Regions from separate parts of the Homo sapiens genome. Here region 1 is linked to region 2. The links are contacts of gene promoters, found by promoter capture Hi-C in blood cells and fetal thymus (Javierre and others, 2016). All regions are on one chromosome and are shown on one strand. Each heading gives the region's core, a stretch centred on a gene start or on the middle of the fragment in contact. The rest is flanking DNA. Distances are from core to core; before and after follow the strand shown. Region 1 overlaps LINC00905 (long intergenic non-protein coding RNA 905). Region 2 holds the start of OR10H1 (olfactory receptor family 10 subfamily H member 1).

Evidence for each region. The method cuts DNA at HindIII sites, captures the fragments that hold promoters and counts their contacts. A CHiCAGO score of 5 or more calls a contact.
Region 1: a contact is called between a fragment that was not itself captured here and the fragment with the promoter of OR10H1 in region 2, in 2 of 17 cell types (naive CD8 T cells and naive CD4 T cells). The highest score is 5.5, in naive CD8 T cells.

What each region holds. Positions count from the first base shown.
Region 1 is chr19:16,038,648-16,041,940 of GRCh38, reverse strand. LINC00905 (long intergenic non-protein coding RNA 905) reads right to left here. Exons shown (of 5, transcript NR_024335.2): 5 at 1-502. Among named protein-coding and RNA genes, the nearest start is that of LINC00905, 6.6 kb to the right of the region's middle. The HindIII fragment of the contact is 781 bases long and covers 1,207-1,987 here.
Region 2 is chr19:15,813,785-15,817,075 of GRCh38, reverse strand. It overlaps OR10H1 (olfactory receptor family 10 subfamily H member 1), which reads left to right and starts at 1,412. Exons shown (of 4, transcript NM_013940.4): 1 at 1,412-1,521. The HindIII fragment of the contact is 16,264 bases long and covers 1-3,291 here.

The DNA of each region.
Region 1 (3,293 bases), core at 348-2,847, 220 kb before region 2:
GTAGACATTTCCTTCAAGCGTTCATTGATTTTGATTTTGCAGCCTTGCTTTTACGTTGTCAAATATCAAAGTGTGTGGTTTTACAGTTTTTTTTTCCTTCCAGGTCTTTAACGTTTTCGGGGACCTCTGGAAAACCTACAGGCGCGGCCCTGGGAAGCTCTGGGTCCCTAGGAGGGGAGGTGACTCCGCGGCGTCCCGGGAATGATCCTCGCGGAGCTCGCGAGGTACTAGCGCCCCCCAGCGTCTGGATTGAGAAACGCACCCTGCGAGGGTGGAGAACCAGCCCAGCCCCAAAGTGAGGTGGCAGAAAAACGAACTCACGGCCAAGGACTGGCTGAGGTTAGCCAGAATTGTGTAAATGTGTTTTGTCTTGCTGGGCTGCCCCCTCTCCTGGTCCTTTGGCTAGGGAGAACAGGATTTTGTTTGGGATTTTTCTTTTGCTTTTTTCGACTGTGCCTGTTGGCGTTCGCGGGTTGCCAGCTTCTTCAGGTCCAAGCCTGGGCTGTATGTGGCGAAAAACAAAACAAAACACCAAAGAATTGACTTTCGTGTCATTCCTTGGGTCCTGAAATTCCCACTGTGTCTGCCTTCCCTCCATCATTCAGAGTCTTACATTTTTCTAGTTTGATCCAATTTCCCAATCACTTTTTATTTTGACAAAGTTGTAAATATGATGCATAGAACATGTTTTGACATAGGCGTACAGCGTAAAATATCTAAATCAAGCTAATTTAACATTTCCTTGACATACCCGTGACCATACCTCCATGCTTATCTCTTTTTCTGTGGTAAGAACACTTAAAATTTGCTCAGCAATTCAGTTTTTTTATATTGAAAAAAAAAAAAAAAAAAAAAGAGATGAGGTCTCACTATGTCGCCCAGGCTGGTCTCAAACACCTGGCCTCAAGTGATCCCCCTCAGTCTCCCAGCGTGCTAGGATTACAGGTGTGAGCCACTGCGCCCAGACTACTCAGCATTTTTCAAGAATAAAATACATTGACTAGAGTCACCATGTTGAACAATTCCTCTTGTGCCCTTTGGCCAATATCTGTTCAGTCCCTCCTCCCTCCCTCAGTCCCTGGAGCCACCATTCTACTTGGGAGTTCAGCTTTTTAGATTCCACAAGTGAGACAGGAAGTATTTGTTTTTCTGTGCCTGGCTTATTTCACTGAACGTCTTCCGGGTTCATCCACGTAAACACAAGCTTTGTTTTTAAAGGCTGAATCTTATTCAGAGTCTTATGTTTTTATGTATGATGTCTGGCCCAGGGTTTTAGTTGTGCTTCGTGGGAGGAATGGGAAAAATTATGTATACCTTGTCCATTTGAATTTGAGAAATGTGCATGATTACACGATCACGTTTTGATCATATGCATGGAATCACAACATATGTATTTTGGTCAACAGCTTCTTATTTCCTTTGTTCTGCCTTCCTCCCTCCCCTCCTCCACGTCCAGTTCTCTCCATCTTTCAAATTCAGGCTCACTCCTTCTCCCATGGATTACTCCAATTGTTCCCCCTTTTTATCGCTATTGGTCATGTCTGGACTTGGAATAAACCCTTTCTGTCCACATGGGCCCTGTCTGCCTGCTGACCTTCCTCTCACTCCTGGCCTCAACATCATCATTCATTCATCAAACACTAAGTGTCTCATTTTGGGGGCACCCCTGAACCTGTGATCCCTCGGAGTTGACCGGGCAAGAAGATCTCCTTACGAAGCAGAGACAGCAAGTGGCGGGGGTGGGGGTGGGGGGGCCCAGTTGGCACAGGATTAAAATACAAGGGCACCCAACCTCACCAGTCATGAGGAACAAGAAGCCACCATGAGGCATTTCAAACCCAACACCCAACATAAATGAAAAGTCTGGCAACACCAGCAGTTTTGGAGGCAGGTAGAAACCCTCAATGGTGGGAGAGCACATTGGTGAAATCACTGTGAAGAATGTGGAAATACCTGGAAATGTTGAAAACGTCCAGATTCTGAAGCTTAGCCTCTCCCCACTTGGCTTTATACCCTAGTGAGCTCCATGGAACTTAAGAAAATGGCTTTGGTCTGGGGCCAAACCCATTTTCTTAGATGGGTTGACTTAAGAAGATGGGCCCTTGTCTGTGGGTAGATGGTCACGGGGGACCGGGTCAGTGGTGGCTTGGTCACTGGGGGGGACTGATCAGTGGGACCCAGTCTGCAGGGCTTGGTCAGCACAGAACACGATCAGTCCGGCTTAGTCAACAGGACCTGGTGGGTGGGGACCTGGTGAGTGGGGGCCTGGTTAGTGGGGACTTAGTAAGGACGAGGTCAGCTGGCTGCTGGGTGACCTCAGGCAGGGGGTTTGTCCTAGAAGCCTCCTTTCTTCCATTTGTAGGGGAGATGAAATCAACTGCACCCCAGAGAGCTACTGGGAGGAGGAGAAGTGCATTGAATATGGCCCTGCTATGCAGATTTAGTACCGTATACACTGAGTCCCTCCCGAGGGAGGGGGTTTCACCCACGGCACTGCCCTGCCCTGCCTGCATCCCCAGGACCACCCTGCCTGAAGGCAGAGGCTGGGGCGCACCTGTGGATGCTCTGATGCTGACCACAGGCCCTGGGGTGACAGTGATGAGGACATGGGGGCACACGTGATTGGGGAAGCCAGGGCCGGCCGGAGGAGAGACACACGCTCACACGCACCCGCACATATCCACCTGCACTCAAGTGCACAGACGCATTGCACGCACACGTCGACAGTTCAGGAGGGGCAGAGGATGCCGTCTCTGGGCCCTGCTGACCCATGCAGGGCTCCGTTGTGATGGGTGCCGTGAGCCCACAATGTCACCATTACCCAACACCCAGGTACCTGCCCGGCTCTGTGTCGTAGAGCAGTTGGAGACACAGTGTGAGTGGGTTCTGCCCAAAGGACGCTTTTCTCTTTTCTAGGTGAGAGGCACATCTCTGCACGGCTGCTTGATCAGACTTAGGAGAGCGTGACCTGCTCTCTTCCCTCCCTGCTGACTTGGGGACAGTCGCTACTGGGTGGGCGGCAGCTGCCCGAGGAGGGTCATCCTCGAGTGCTCACTGGGTGCCCGTTCTGTGCTGACCAGGCAGACAGTCATCCTGTTCATCCTCACAGTGACTCTGTTCCAGGAACATGCCAGGAAGACCCCCAGCCCCACTCCCCAGGACAGACCTGGACTGGCCCAGGGACAGCACCCTCACACTGTCCCCATGACCCTTTGCTTCAGTCTGGAGGGCCAGGCTGGGCCTGTTGTGCTGAGCAGGACACTGAGTCCTCCCAGACAAGGAGCCCACCTTGA
Region 2 (3,291 bases), core at 163-2,662:
TAACTTTTTGATAAACTGTCAAACCATTTTGTGTGTTTTTAAAATGCAGATCTGATTCTCCCGTAGATATCTTTCCGTAACTTGGTTTTTCACTCAGCGTCTTAGAGTGAACTCTGTGTGAGTTTATGCAGACCAAAGTTTCTCAGTCTTGGCAATGTCGACATTTTTGTGTTGACAAAATGGCTGGAGTGCCGTGGCTACTCACAGGGGCAATCATAATGCATCGTTATATATAGTAGTATATAGTCCCATTTATATGAAATGTCTAGAATAGGTAAGTCCATAGAGCCAGAGCCAGAAAACAAATTGGTGGTTTTGAAGGACTGGGTGGGGTAGGGGAGTGGCTGCTAATGGGTATTAGGTGATGAAAACATTTTGGAACTAGACAGAGGCGGCGGCCACACAACATTGTGAATGCATTCAATCCCAGGGAATTGTATACTTTAAAGTGGTTGATTATTTTATGTGAATTTCACCTCAAAAGCAGAACGAAGCGAAAGCAACAATAATGCACAACAGAACTCTGATTTTATGGGTTTGCATTGTTTTCACATCCTACATGCTCATGAAGATCTGAAGGGATACCCATTAAATTCACCGTCACGATTGCCTGGCTGGCCATTGCATGGTTTGCTGCTTTGTATGTAGCATTTCAATTACATAATAAGAAGAAACAGGCCAGGCATGGTGGCTCACAGCTGTAATCCCAGCACTTTGAGAGGTCAAGGTGGGAGGATCCCTTGAGCCAAGGAGCTCAAGACCAGCCTGGGCAACAAAGCGAGACCCCATCTCTACAGAAAAATTAAAACTTAGCCCAGGTGTGGTGGCAAGCACCTTTACTCCCAGCTGCTCAGGAGGCTGAGGCAGGAGAATCATTTGAGCCTGGGAGGTTGAGGCTGCAGTGAGCCATAATCACACCACTGCACTCCAGCCTGGGCAACAGAGCTAGACCCTGTCTCAAAAAATAAAAATAAAAACAAATACGTGTGTGTGTGTTGGTTTTAAAAAATTATTTTAAAGGACATTTAGTTGGGCAAATGACCCAGTTGGAGAAGAATGAAGGTGACGGGGCATATCAAGGCAGCCTCTGCAGTCCCTGGGGGCAATGGCAGGGCTGCCCTCCTGTCAATTTCAACAGTCATGGGCCCAAACCCCAAATCTGTAGAGCACTAGACTCTGCTCAAGCTCTTGACAAGCTCAGGGAATTGACTCACCCCTGGCAGGCGGGGGGAATGGGAAAGTGAGGATACAGATTCCCTGAGGTTGCCTCCTCTCTGGCAGGGTCCCTGGGGTCCCAGCATCCCTGTAGCGGAGACAGAGACAGTAGGACCACAGCGAGGGAAGCCGGTGGGCAGGGAGTCAGGGAGGGATAAATAATCGCATTTGGGCTCAGTCAAGCCCCCGGCTCAGCTGGTGTGGCTGCTTGGTGCAGCCCACACCTGGTCAGCTCCCACCTGTGGAGAAACTCCAAACTAGAGCCTCCTACTGGGATGAAGCAGAAGCAGATGCCTGGAGTCCCAGGTGAGTCACCTCCCCTCTCAGCCACCTGACCAGGAGAGACCTGGGGAACCAGCACCTGCCAGGGACTCCAAGAAACCACCTGTTTATATTACTCCTTTAGCAATGTGAGTCTACAGGGCAGTGGGTGACAGGCAGAGGCCACTCACCACGTCTTAGTCAGTGTGCTGTTTGCTTAGCAGGACTTACCTTCTTCTATTTTTTTTTTTTTTTTTTTGAGACGGAATCTCGCTCTGTAGCCCAGGCTGGAGTGCAGTGGCGCAATCTCGGCTCACTGCAACCTCCGCCTGCCAGGTTCAAGCGATTCTTCTCCCTCAGCCTCCTGAGTAGCTGGGACTACAGGTGCGTGCCACCATGCCTGGCTAATTTTTTGTATTTTTAGTAGAGACAGGGGTTTCACCATGCTGGACAGGCTGGTCTTGAACTCCTGATCTCGTGATCCACCCGCCTCGGCTTCCCAAAGTACTGGGATTACAGGCATGAGCCATCGTGCCCAGCCAGGACTTGCCTTCTTTAGAGCTCCTGCTGCCTCATGAGGTAGGTCCCTTGGATGGGGGAGGTAACAGGTGCAGAGAGAAGACAGCCAATGCTCAATGTGACCCAAGGTGATGGTTTGATTTTAACCTCTCTTCTCGGTCTGTCCAGGCAAGAAGTCTACGGAAAAAGGATTGGGAAGAGGCGGAGAAAAGAGAGAAAGAGGATTCAGGGTTCAGAAGCTCCAGCCACCACCCCAGGGTGTAAAGAATCAGGGTGGGCCGGGTGCAGTGGCTCATGCCTGCAATCCCAGCACTTTGGGAGGCCAAGGTGGGAGGATCACTTGAGTCCAAGAGTTTGAGGCCAGCCTGGGCAGCATAGTGAGACCCTGTCTGTACAAAAAAATACAAAAATTGGCCAGGAATGGCAGGCACCTGTAGCTACTCCAGAGATTGAGGTGGGAGGATTGCTTGAGCCCAGGAAGTTAAGGCTGCAGTGAGCTGTGATTGTGCCTCTGCACTCCAGCCTGGGTGACAGAGGGATACCCTGTCTCTCTCTCTCTCTCTCTCTCTCTCTCTCTCTCTCTCTCTCTCTCTCTCTCTCACACACACACACACACACACACACACACACACACAAGGGAGGCGTCAATGGGAGCAGGTGGTGAGGGAATGGTTAGGAGCTGGGGATGAGAAGATGGAGAGAAAAGAGAGGGAAGTGGTGGCTTAAGTGGAAGAGAGGGGAGGCCAGACAGCTTCACTAAGAAGAGAGAGCCAGGATGGGTGAGAGTTAAGGCCAGATGGGGTCTCAGAGACAAGACAGGCCTGGCCCATGGAGTGATGCTGTCACCCAGGAGACACGTGACAACGTATAAGGACATTTCTGATTGTCGTGACTGGGGAGTGCTGCTGGTATCTATCTGGTGGGTGGAGACCAAGAATGCTGCTCAGTCTCCTGCAGTGCACAGGACACCCCTCTGAGAGAGAATGATTCGCCCCTAGCGTCCCTAATGCTGAAGGCAGGAAACCCTGCTCTAGGGATGTCTGTGGCAGGACTTGTCCACAGCCACGCTTAGCCCTAGAGTCTCTGAGTGGAGAACTGGCCCCACCGGGTGTTCCTGTCAGTGCTAGACAGTGGGCTTGCTTGCTCTCTCTCTTTCTTCTCACCTTTTTCTTCTCTTTCCCCTCTGTCCTCTCTTTCTCCCTACCTCTCTTTCCTCTCTCTGTTTCTCTTCCCACCTCCCTCTCTCTCCACTTCTCTCTCTCTCCCCACCCTTCTCTCTGTCTCTCTCTCTCTTTC